2 separate regions of the Homo sapiens genome follow, and region 1 is linked to region 2. Evidence: promoter capture Hi-C in 16 types of primary human blood cells and fetal thymus (Javierre and others, 2016). All regions are on one chromosome and are shown on one strand. The core of a region is centred on a gene start or on the middle of the fragment in contact, and the rest is flanking DNA. Distances in the headings are between cores, read along the strand shown.

Region 1 (5,928 bases), core at 1,357-3,856, 600 kb after region 2:
TTCACTCTTGTTGCCCAGGCTGGAGTGCAATGGCGTGATCTTGGCTCACCACAACCTCCGCCTCCCGGGTTCAAGCAATTCTCCTGCCTCAGCCTCCTGAGTAGCTGGGATTACAGGCATGTGCCACCACGACCGGCTAATTCTGTATTTTTAGTAGAGACGAGGTTTCTCCATGTTGGTCAGGCTGGTCTCGAACTCCTGACCTGAGGTGATCCACCCTCCTCGGCCTCCCAAACTGCTGGGATTACAGGCATGAGCCACCGTGCCCGGCCCAAAACTCCTTATATATCCAGAGAGCATATATATTATAAATATTTAACCTACCTAGTATAGCTTATTGGATACTAAAGCAGGACTTTGTTAAACTCTTAGCATGCAGTGGATCATCTACTATGGTCACTGTATGAGGTGGGTGCTTTGCCATTCCCAGCTGTAGCCCCAACCCTCAGCACTGGGCCTGGCATGAGTTAAGTACTTTATTGATATTTGTTGAGTAAATGAATGGAGGTAAAAGTCAGCTAGCAAGGCAGCCAGGGTAGCTACAGGCAGCCTGATTTGGACAAGTAATTTTATTTTATTTTTAATTTATTTATTTATTTTGAATCTCTGAAAGAGTTTCACTTTTGTCGCCCAGGCTGGAGTGCAATGGTGTGATCTTGGCTCACTGCAACCTCTGCCTCTTGGGTTCAAGCGATTCTCCTGCCTCAGCCTCCTCAGTAGCTGGGATTACAGGTGCCTGCCACAACGCCTGGCTAATTTTCTTGTATTTTTAGTAGAGATGGGGTTTCCCCATGTCAGCCAGGCTGGTCTTGAACTCCTGACCCCAGGTGATCTGCCTGCCTCGGCCTCCCAAAGTGCTGGGATTACAGGTGTGAGCCACCACACCTGGCCCGTGGACAAGTAATTTTAAAAGCCCAGAAAACATTGACTATTCACTTGGACAAGCTAAAAATAATGGATGGTGCCTGGTGTTGGTGAAGATGAAGAGACATGGATGCTCTTCCACCTTCCTGGTGAGACTGTAAATTGGTACAAAATTTCAGGGAACAAAATTTTAAAAGGGCATATCCTTTGACCAAACAAGCTTACCTCTAGAAATTTAACGTGAGGAAATACTTGGGCAAAGGTAGAAAGACAGGTTATGTATTAATAGTAAAAAGTGCCCAGAATGAGGGATTAGTTAAGAGAAAATAATGGTTCATCCATATCACAATAGCTCATAATCGCTGCGGTTAATAGAAAGTGGTAGTCAACTGTGTGCCAGATAACTCAAGTGGTCATCAAGATTCCCCTATGACATAGATGCTGTTATTATTCCTATTTTGTAGATGAGGAAACAGGTATAGAGAGGTTAAGAAACTTGTTGAGGTCACACAGCTGGTGAGGAGAGAAGGAATTTGGATCTAGGCGCTGGTTCCCAAGACTACAGTCTTTCATTCACAGCTCATATCATGATGATGTCGACCTGAATTCATCAACATGGAATCATGCCTGCAATAAATTGTTACAGGGAAAAGGCATATTGGAAAATTCCAAGAGTGGCTACCTCTCCACATGGGATAATGGCAAATATCTTTTTAATTTTTTCTTCTTTCTCATTTGAATTTTTCTTACAATGTGTAAATATTATTATGCTTACAAAAGACAATGAAGTTCTTAGTCCCAGCTGCTGGGGAGCTGAGGCAGGAGAACCGCTTGAACCCAGGAGGCAGAGGTTGCAGTGATCCAAGATCGCGCCACGGCACTCAAGCCTGGATGACAGAGTGAGACTCAGCCTCGGGAAAAAAAAAAAAGACAATGAAGTTCCTTTCATTTTGGGGGAAAATAGAAAAAGGAGAAAAGAGGACGGGCACAGTGGCTCATGCCTGTATTCCCAGCACTCTGGGAGGCCGAGATGGGTGGATCACTTGAGGTCAGGAGTTCGAGACCAGCCTGGCCAACATGGCAAAACTCCATCTCTAGTAAAATTACAAAAATTAGCCGGGTGTGGTGGCATGCACCTGTAGTCCTAGCTACTTGGGAGGCTGAGGCAGGAGAATAGCTTGAACCCGGGAGGGTGGAGGTTGCAGTGAGTCAAGATTGCGCCACTGTACTCCAGTCTGGACAACAGAGCAAGGCTCCATCTCAAAAAAAGAAAAAAGAAAAGAAAAAGGAAAAAAGCTGGAGGATGCAGGAAAGGACTCTATAGGAACTTCCAAGGCCTCCTTGGCTGGTGACCTGGCTTTGGCCTCCGCTGCCTCCTACAGCCAGGCAAGCTGCCATCCTCTTCCACTGGGGAAAAAGGGGTGCCTTGTTTTTCTTCCCTGATAGCCAGACAGGCGAGAGCAGAGAGGCAGCTGCAAAAGCTTCCTCGGTGCCTCATACTCATGGACTCCATCTAAAAGTAACTCCTCACCCCCAACCATCATATGGCTGCTAATATTAGTGCTCATTTTTCCACTGAGGAAACAGAAACTTAGAGAGGTGGATCTGTCCAGGGTCATTTCCACAATGAGGACAGGAGGCAGGAAGCAGGCTCCATCCTAGTGATGGACACCTAAGTCCCTGTTTTTTCATTTGCACAACCATTTGAAGGAGAATCCTGTGTTTTTTGTTACACCATACTGCTCAAAAATTTCTATCAAACTATAGCAAAGATTCCTTTCCTTCCTTTAAAAAATGTTGAAGGGAAATGTCTTAGACTTGAGTATCTTGATTTATAGTCGATATACAGCAGTTTAGCCCTTGAATATGGCCAATGACGTGTTGCAGCAAGCTGAGCACTTCTATTACATGCAAAGACTCTGACTGCAAACATCCAAGTGGGCAAGGGATTATCAAGTTTAGCAATGGACTAACCAAAAACTGCATTCGTGTGGAACTGACCACAAGCTTTACATTATGCTTTTGCTCCTTTCTTGCTCATTACCCATTGTATAACAAAATATGCCCAGACTTGGGCTTTAATAAAAAATTTCTTAGCTCTCAATTTTTTGTGGTTTGATTGGTCTTAGCTAGGTGGCTCTTGCTTAGGGTCTTTCATAAAGTTGCAGTCAGGTGGTGGCTGGGGCTGCAGTCACCTGGTGGGTCAGCTTGGCTGAACACCTACCATGGCACACTCCTATGGCCTAAACCCCAAGGATAAAGAGAATGAGAGTTTTGACATCAGCCTACAAGGGATTTCAATAGTCCTTGGAGAATGGATGGCGGATGGAAGAGTGGTATTGCTATAACAGAACAAATGAAACTACAAACTAAGTGCCTGCAGTGCGGGAAACTATTGAGGAGCAAGCCACCCCACTGCAGAACCCTGGACGCGGTGATACACTGGAGCTAGCTCATTCTGGTTAATGAGAGTGGATTTTTTAAAAAATTCAAGGCCAGGTGTGGTGGCTCATGACTGCAATCCCAGCGTTTTGGAGGTCGAGGCGGGAGGATCACTTGAGCCCAGTTCGAGGCGGCAGTGAGCTATGATTGCACCACTGCACTCCAGCCTGGGCAACAGAGCAAGACTCTGTCTCTTAGAAAAGTTTTTTTTTTTCCAGTAATATTATTCTTGTATGGTGCAAACACTATATAATGCTGCGCTACTGCCCATTTTCTTTCCAGAAAGGATAAGGCACTCAATTTTCCAGACATTTCTTGAGTACCATACTTGTGCCAGGCCCTGGGAAACAGTGATCAGCAGGAGGGACGAAGAGCCCACCCTCATGGGGCTTACAGTGTACAGGGGCTGAGGTGGTGATATTTGTCAAATAACCACCCAAACACTTAATTAGAAATCGTGATAAGCCCAATGAAAGAAAAATACATGAAACAGTTTTATTTGGGAAGGGAGTGGTTTAGGGAAGACTCGAAAGTGACAATGGAGCTATCAAGTTCAAGAAGGAGTTAGTAGGGGAGGAGGCTGCAGGAAGAAGTGCACGCCTGGAGGCAGGAACAGCATGTGTCCCGGTAGTTCAGGGTGGCGGGCCCAGGCGGGTGAGAAAGGGCAATGGAGAAGGAAGGAGAGGAGACCGTGCAGACACTGCAAGTGCCAGAAACCCGATCCACACTGGCTTCAGAGGGTGGAGGGGAGGTTCTTCTTGGCTTCCATAATAGAAATGTCCAGGGACCTACCGACTTCAGATTCAGCGCAAACTCATCTGGGCCCGGTCTGTATCCCTCCCTCTCTTTTCTCTCAGCACTTTCCTCAGGCGGTTCCCCTCCTGGCATCCCAGCAGCTGCAGCATCAGCAGGAGAGAGTAAGCCTCTCCAGTCCCGGCGCAGGGATGGAGACGGTGTTTCGTGGGCTCCGATTGGCTCAGTAGCCTATCTTTGGAGCGAATCAGCGAGCGGAGAGGGATGAACTTCTCTGACTGGCCAGATCCAGTCACATGCCAACATGTGACGCGTGGAATCTACGCCAGCCACAGCAGAGAGGTGGGGGTTGTGACCGGAGTTAGATGCCAGCGCAGAAGGGACGTGAGCCCAGCCGAGGTACCGCTGAAGAGGAATCAATTTTGGTATGCAGATAATCACTGGGCTCATGGGTCTTGCTCTTTACAAAGAGGTATGTCCCTGTAAAGTTGTCAGGCAAAGGAAATGTTTCAAACGACTCCATTTCACGAAGTCTCACCTAATTTACAATTCGTTAGTTGAGATGCTTGTATTCTTCGTTTCTAAAATAAGACGTTGAACCATAAAGACTCTAGCTAGCTCTGCAACCTCTGATGAATATTTCATGCCTCATTATTGTGAAAAATCCAAAGCAGAATTGGAGAGAAGATGTGGTATAGGGATTAGGTAAGTGAAGACTGGTGCAAAGCCTCCTGGGTCGAAATTCTGTCCACTGCTTTGTCATTGGAAAAGTTATTTAACGTCGTCGTCTCAGTTCCCACAACTATTAAAATGGAGAGGATAACAACACCTACCTTATGCTCTTGTGAGGATTAAATAAGTTACCGTTAATATATGTAAAGCACTTAAAAGAGGACCATGTGTTTGCTATTATTATGTTATACATACAATAAAGAGTAAACATTACCTAAGTTATAAAGAACTTAGGCAATGGATACCAAAAGTACTAATTCCTTTATAATAAAAGAAAAAAAGGCGACAAGGCAAATAACGATAATAACTGATAATGGCTGGGCGCGATGGCTCACGCCTGTAACCCCAGGACTTTAGGAGGCGGAGGCGGGCGGATCACTTGAGGTCAGGAGTTTGAGAACAGCCTGGCCAACATGGTGAAACCCTGTCTCTACTAAAAATACAAAAAATTAGTCGGGCGTGGTGGCGCACACCTGTAATCCCAGCTACTCGGGAGGCTGAGACAGGAGAATCGCTTGAACCCGGGAGACGAAGTTTGCAGTGAGCTGAGATCGCGCCGATGCACTCTAGCCTGGACAACAGAGCGAAACTCCGTCTCAAAACAAAAAACTAACAAACGAACAAAAAACTGATCATTTATTATACACCCAGAACTGTGCTTTTAGCACAGTTTTGTTTTGTTTTGTTTTGTTTTTGAGATGGACTCTTGCTCTGTCACCCAGGCTGGAGAGCAGTGGCGCGATCTCGGCTCACTGCAACCTCTGCCTCCCGGGTTCAAGCGATTCTCCTGCCTCAGCCTCCTGAGTAGCTGGGATTACAGGCGCGCACCACCACGCCTGGCTAATTTTTTTTTTTTGTATTTTTAGTAGAGATGGGGGTTTCACCATGTTGGTCAGGCTGGTCTCGAACTCCTGACCTCGTGATCCGCCCGCCTCAGCCTCGCAAAGTGCTGGAATTACAGGCGTGAACCACCGCGTCTGGCCGTATTGTCTCATTTAATCCTCACAACAGTCTTATGGAATGGGTGCTGCTATCTTTGTTTTTCAGATGAGGAAACAAGCTCAGAGGGTTGAAATGACTTGTCCAAGGTTACAGGCCAGTGGAGGCTTGAACCCAGGTATTTGTAATTCCAAATGT
Region 2 (6,077 bases), core at 690-3,189:
TCATAGCTGTCGGTGTTCCTCTCTCTGGAGAAGTTGTCTGCCTTCTCCACAGGCTCTGCCCACCTGGCTCATCCACAGGGACCCTCCCCTGCCCGCCCAAACCCCCTTACCAGCTTCTGCAGGGCGGCCAGCTCCTCGGGCAGGTAGCAGAGGCCAGTGCGGTTCAGCTTCAGCCACCGCAGGCTGGTCATGGCCTTGACATTCTCAGGGAAGTAGCCGCCCTGGGGGAAGGATGTCAAGGTGAAGCACAGAGCCCCTGCTCACCACCTTCTATGGCTCCTCCAGCCCATGGGAGCCTTTGGGGAGCCACAGAACCAACTCTCACCATCTGTGAGAACACAGACAAGTCATTTCATCATTGTGCCTCAATTTCTTCACCCATAGAATGGGAATTTTAAGCCCCCCCGTGACAAAAGTGTTGGCCTAAGATTTGTCTCTCCTACTGGATTCTGGGCCCCAGGAGGGCCAGGACAAAACTGGCTTGTTTCAGGTGAAAGCCCAGCATCCGGCTCTGTGGTTAGCTCGGCTCAAATTCCTTCACCTAGCATTCCACACTCTGACTGGCTGCCTGGGGTGGGGGATCCCCCTTCCAAGCCTTTGCAAAGGCGCCACCTGTGCCCTCATCCTGCCATCAGCACACTGGCAACTCACGGCCAGGGTCAAACCCTTGCTTGCGGAGACCGTGGCTCCCCACCCTGCAGGGCAGGCCAGCATCACTGCACTCCCCTGGTGTGTGAACGCCCACCTCGGCACCTCCAGCCCTTGTGGCACCAAGTCTGGGGCAGTAGGTGCCTTCAGTGCCTGCGGCTGATATTCCTTTCCCCCTAGCGCCACATTCCCAGCTGGTGACTCGGACTCTCCCAGTTCAGCAAAGAGGAACGGGGACCCCAGGTTAGGGTGGTGGGGATGGGGTCAGGGAAAAGTGGTGTAGCCACTTGTACTTGGGGTCAAAGGTGTGTACACAGGCAGGTAAACGCAGGAAAAACCTGCCTCCTCGGCCCCAGCCCCAGACCAACAACCCAGGCCGACCCTGCCAGTCACCCACCCTGAAGGTGAGGCTGACCCTCCAGCCAGCTCTCCCTCCCTCTCTTTCTCTGCTTCCCCTTTGGTCAGGCAATGCCTGTCTCATTCTTGAGTCCTGGAACCACCCCGCCGCCCCACCCACTGGCTGCGGAGGGCTGGGCTCCGGTCCCTTTTCTCTCAGTCCAGCAGCTGCTCAGACAACTGCCACCCAGCACCTGGCACACCGGCCTGACACACTCTCCACACCAACAAATCTCACTATACTCCTTGCGTCCAAGGAGGAGACTTTTAAGCCCCTTCACCGGCTGAGAAAGCCTAGGCTCTGAGAGGGGAAGTGATCTGAGAGGCCCAGGATCACACAGTATGGCGGGTGGCGGTGGCGGGGAGAGGGCAGTGATGAGTCGGCTCCACACCCGCCCCTGGGCAGCCGGGCAGCCATCCCTGAGTCAGGGCCTGGCTTGGGCGTGTGACCTCAGAGGGGCGGGGAGGCTCGCCCGATCCCCAGGCCACCATCCAGCCTAGACCGAGAACACGGACGCGGGGTGGGGGCTCCCGGCCGGGCCCCCGGCGGGACTCCGAGCCCAAGCGTCCGTCCCCGGCCTGCCCAGCCTCGGTCTCCCCGTACAGGCACTGGGCGGAGGCCTCGGAGGTCCATTCCTGGCCAGGGGAGAGCCCCACCCCGCCCCGGCCGCAGTCCCTGGGACACGCAGGGCCTGGAGCCGAGCGGGACAGGAAGCGGAGGCCAAGCGGGCCGGGCGGAAGAGAAGGCCTGCAGGGAGGCCCGGCACGCGCCCGGCCCGGCTCACCTTGAAGTCGTTGCCGCTGAGGTCCACGCCACGCACGAACGGCAGCACCCCGGTGGCCTCCATGGCGCCGCTCTCGCTGCCGGGCCGCGCCGGGCTAGGGAGCGCCGGGGCGAGGGCGCTGGGGGGAGCCGCGGGCTGGGCCAGCGCCGGCCCCGCCCCTTTAACCCGCCCGCGCCCGCCGCATTCCGCGGGGAAGTGTAGGCTTTAGGCCTCTTAGGGCCTCAGTTTCCCCGTCTGTTCGAAGACTGCGGAGGCACCAAGGAGTGCGGGCCCCCCCTGTGCTGGAGTTGGAGGCTTCCACGATCTCCAGGCTTAAGTCCCAGCGCCCCAGGGCAGGGGCCGTAACGGCCGCTGGTCGAGGCACCGTCACCTGCGCTGCTGCAGCACATGAAGCTGGCCCTGACCTCAGAGAGATTCTAAACCTCGGCCCCGGGGCGCAGAGGCCCAGGAAGTGCCTGTACTTGGCTGACCGGTGGTAGTGAGACACCTGGATCCTCGGGTCCTAGCTCTCCTGCTTCTGGACTTAGTTTCCTCATGTGTTGTTTTTGTTTTGTTGAGACAGGGTCTTCTTGCTCTGCTGCCCAGGCTGGAGTGCAGTGGTGTGATCATAGCTCACTGCAGCCTCGAACTCCTGGGCTCAGCCTCCCGACTACCTGGGATTATAGGCGCAGGCCACCACACCTGGCTAAATTTATTTATTTTATTTATTTTTTATTTTTTTTGAGACAGAGTCTCGCTCTGTCGCCCAGGCTGGAGTGCAGTGGCGCAGTCTCGGCTCACTGCAACCTCCGCCTCCCGGGTTCACGCCATTCTCCTGCCTCAGCCTCCCGGGTAGCTGGGACTACAGGCACCCGCCACTACGCCCGGCTAATTTTTTTTTTTTTTTTTTTTGTATTTTTAGTAGAGACGGGGTTTCACCGTGTTAGCCAGGATGGTCTCGATCTTCTGACCTCGTGATCCAACCGCCTCGGCCTCCCAAAGTGCTGGGATTACAGGCGTGAGCCACCGCGCCCGGCCTTATTTATACTTTTTGTAGACACGGGGTGCTTGCTATGTTGCCCAGGCTGGTCTTGATCTCCTGGCCTCAAGTGATCCTCTGGTATCAGCTTCTCAGAGTGTTGGGATGACAGGCGTGAGCCACCGCGCCCTACCCAGTTTCCTCATTTGTAAAATACTTTCTAAGGTTGTCACCATGAGCAAATTAACAAAGAATGCACGTGTAGCTCGCAGCATACAGCAGGCGCTCAGTGAGTGGCAGGTTATTATTCCGTTTTGTTTTGTTTTGTGCGCCAGGTTATTATTCCCACTTAGTGTCAGCACCCCTGTGCTCGTACCCCCCTACAAAGGGAGGCTCCAGAAGAGAAGCATCCGTCTTGGTCCTTGCTGTTCAAGGGGGCTCGCCCTGGCTGACACATAGCAGGACCCCAATAAATGAGCCACAGCTGTTATATGCCCAACCATCCTTCGCAGGGGAGGAGGGGGTCTAGTGTCCCCATTTTACAGGAGAAAAACTGATGCCCAGGTGGAGAATGGCCCACACAAGCTCGCACAGAGCAGGTGGCAGGGGTAGGCGCTGTGCCCCTCAGGCCCACAGGTAAGAATGAGGCCACCAAGACACTCTCTCGCAGAGGTGACCTAAGAGGTTGGATGTGCCGGGCCTCTAGCCATGTGCAGCCTCTCTACCTGGTCCCCAGAAGGAACGGGGCCCAGACAGCTTCCTCCACACCGGAGGCTCACATTACAACGCACAGACGTCCTGGAGGGTCGCCTGTCACGTCACCTGTTCGCGGTCTCGGAATGCAGCCCTGCACCTTTAAATCCAGACTGCGTCAGGGAGTCCCGCCCCAGAGGGAGTGCGGCTGTCGGCTGGGGGGCGGGACCTGCCCTTCATTGGCTGAACCGCGCAGTATTTTGGCACCTGTGCGCTGGACTCGAGCGCTCCGATTGGAGTTAGGGCCTGCTTGTCTGCGTGCTGCGAAGTCCGCGGCTGCCCCCGGGGCCCTAGTCGTTGGGTTCCAGGGTCCTTCACGTTCCATTCCCAGGCTGGTCTGAGCTCCGGGGCCGTGGTCCCGCTGCCTCCTCCGGTCGTCGTGCGGAAGCTGCGACGCAGGTACAGCTGGAGCGCGGCGGGGCGGCCCCCAGGGTCACCGGGCTCGGGGCTTGGCGCGCGACGGAACGCAGATCGGGGGCGTGGCCCGCGATCACCGCTGGGGAAGGCGGGGAGGGGACCTTTGGGGGACCAAGGGCAGCGTTCGAATCCTAGCCCAGCCCCCTTCCCCTCTCGGTCTCTTGGTTTATCCTGCGAACGGGGCGTCACCCGCCCACCTAGGGCTGCTGCGCGGCCTGCTCCGCCCGGGCCCAGGGCAGGCAGGTTTGGCGGAGGAGGGAAGGCCAAACGGCCTCCAGGGCCCCGCTGCGCAAACTTGGGTTATTTTCAGCCACCCGTGCCCTTTCCTGCTTCTCGGAGCTGGAAGGCTGTGGACTGAGGCCTGCGCGACCCCGCCAGAGATGGGGCTGAGTCCCAATTTAGACAGGTTGGGAGTATTTAAAGCGCTTTACAGTTTGCAAAGTAGATTCCTGGTCTCTCTGGGGGCGGGTGGCAGTATTGATCCCCGAGTCACCGATGAGGAGATTGAAACCGGCCCTGGGGCCGTGGCGGGTCACCCGGTTGGCCTGGGATCGCCCCAGAGACCGTCTTATTTTTAGTCTGGGGCGAATGGGCGGGTGTACGGGGCTGAGTCACACAGCGCTTCAGGCTTCAGCTACTCCAGGCATCTGGTCACCTGGCAACTGGGCCCCTGGCACCCACACTCTGGCAGGGCAGGTAGAAGTCCTTGGTGCCCGGGCAGGCTGTGACCTCATGGTCATCTGCTCAGGCCTCCCCGGGAGAGTTCTGCTTGGTGTCTAACTGATGTCCTAAGGTCCCAGCCCTTCTCAGCTCCCAGGGCCTGAGGGCAGTGTCCCCCTCGCAGAACGTGAGGAATGTGGACTGGGCCCTAGGAGATCTTTGCCTCCACTTCCCAAGTGCTGGCCCCCACCCAGCCACACACTTCAAGGCTGCCCACATCTGCCCCTCACTGCTGCCTATGCCATCTTACAGGTGAGCAAACAGGCTGGGGCCCAGGCCTTCACCTTACTTTCTGTGTTGCTTGGCCTTCCGGCAGTTGAGAAGCATCACCCACCACTACCTACACATTGTCCCAAGACTGAGAGGCCCAGAGAGCCCCCTGTACAGAGGCACTGGGCAGCCCTTTCTGCCCTGCCAAAGGGGCTTCAACCCTGACAAGCACATCTGCATTGGCCTGCCTGGGCAGCTTGGGCCGTCTTACTCTGCCCGTGCTCTGACTTGGTAGCTCTGCCTCTTGGGCTACCCTGTCAAGATTTGGGGGTAACTGGTCCCAGTGGTCCCCCAGACTGGCTGGGGCCCCAAATTGTTGGTCTTCTCTGGACTTTGGGCTCTTCTGAAGAGGTTATCATAGAGGGCTGCTGTGCCCTCTGGGTAGGAACCTTCAGATGAGGCTGCTGCTGAGGACCTGGGCACCTGGCACAGGGAGAATCCGTCAGACTCTGTGGGCGGATGAGAGTCTGGAGGCCTTGCAGTCATGGGTTGGAGACCTTACCACTCACTTGTGAGCTGGCAGCCTGTAGCTCTGTAACATAGGGGTAGTGATGATGACACCCTGGTGATGTCAGAGGTCCTGGAGGGTGGGCTCCAGGGAGAGAGGCCCCTTCCTATACCTGCACAAGCCTCAGGGCCTTTGTGAGCTTCTTTCCAGGCAGCTTTGGGAGAAGGGGCTTGGCAGCTCCCTCATCTCCTCATGAGAGATGGGGGCTTGGGACCCCAAAACCCAAGCTCATATCCCATCCCTGCCCTTTCTCAGGTACTTTACGTGATTTCCCAGGGCCTCGGTGTCCTCCCCTGTGGATGGGTGGCCCCTTTCTCTGAGAAATTCTCAGAAAGCCCCCCTCATGGGCTCAGCTCTGTTACCCAGCATAAGGACAGCTAGAGCACCTGTCCACAGCAGCCCCTCTCCCAGCCTGGCCACCTGCACCTGAGCTGCCCCTTCACCCCTGGCTCTCTTACAGGCAGACCATGGCAGAGTTCTCCCAGAAACGGGGGAAGCGGCGTAGCGACGAAGGGCTGGGCAGCATGGTGGACTTCCTCCTGGCCAATGCCCGCCTGGTGCTGGGCGTGGGCGGGGCTGCTGTGCTGGGCATTGCCACCCTGGCCGTGAAGCGGGTAAGGCC

What was found. The method cuts DNA at HindIII sites, captures the fragments that hold promoters and counts their contacts. A CHiCAGO score of 5 or more calls a contact.
Region 1: a contact is called between a fragment that was not itself captured here and the fragment with the promoter of FLII in region 2, in 1 of 17 cell types (fetal thymus). The highest score is 5.7, in fetal thymus.

Annotation. Positions count from the first base shown.
Region 1 is chr17:18,851,946-18,857,873 of GRCh38, forward strand. It overlaps a transcript of PRPSAP2 not described here. Among named protein-coding and RNA genes, the nearest start is that of PRPSAP2, 3.2 kb to the right of the region's middle. RefSeq lists enhancers at 4,037-4,537, 4,056-4,105, 4,126-4,185. The HindIII fragment of the contact is 526 bases long and covers 2,344-2,869 here.
Region 2 is chr17:18,256,799-18,262,875 of GRCh38, forward strand. It overlaps FLII (FLII actin remodeling protein), which reads right to left and starts at 1,940. Exons shown (of 30, transcript NM_002018.4): 1 at 1,830-1,940; 2 at 111-221. The coding sequence starts at 1,892. It overlaps MIEF2 (mitochondrial elongation factor 2), which reads left to right and starts at 3,864. Exons shown (of 4, transcript NM_139162.4): 1 at 3,864-3,939; 2 at 5,916-6,069. The coding sequence starts at 5,923. RefSeq lists enhancers at 1-572, 1,232-1,311, 1,311-1,812, 3,422-3,551, 4,173-4,793 and 1 more and silencers at 1,482-1,621, 1,632-2,031. The HindIII fragment of the contact is 11,245 bases long and covers 1-6,077 here.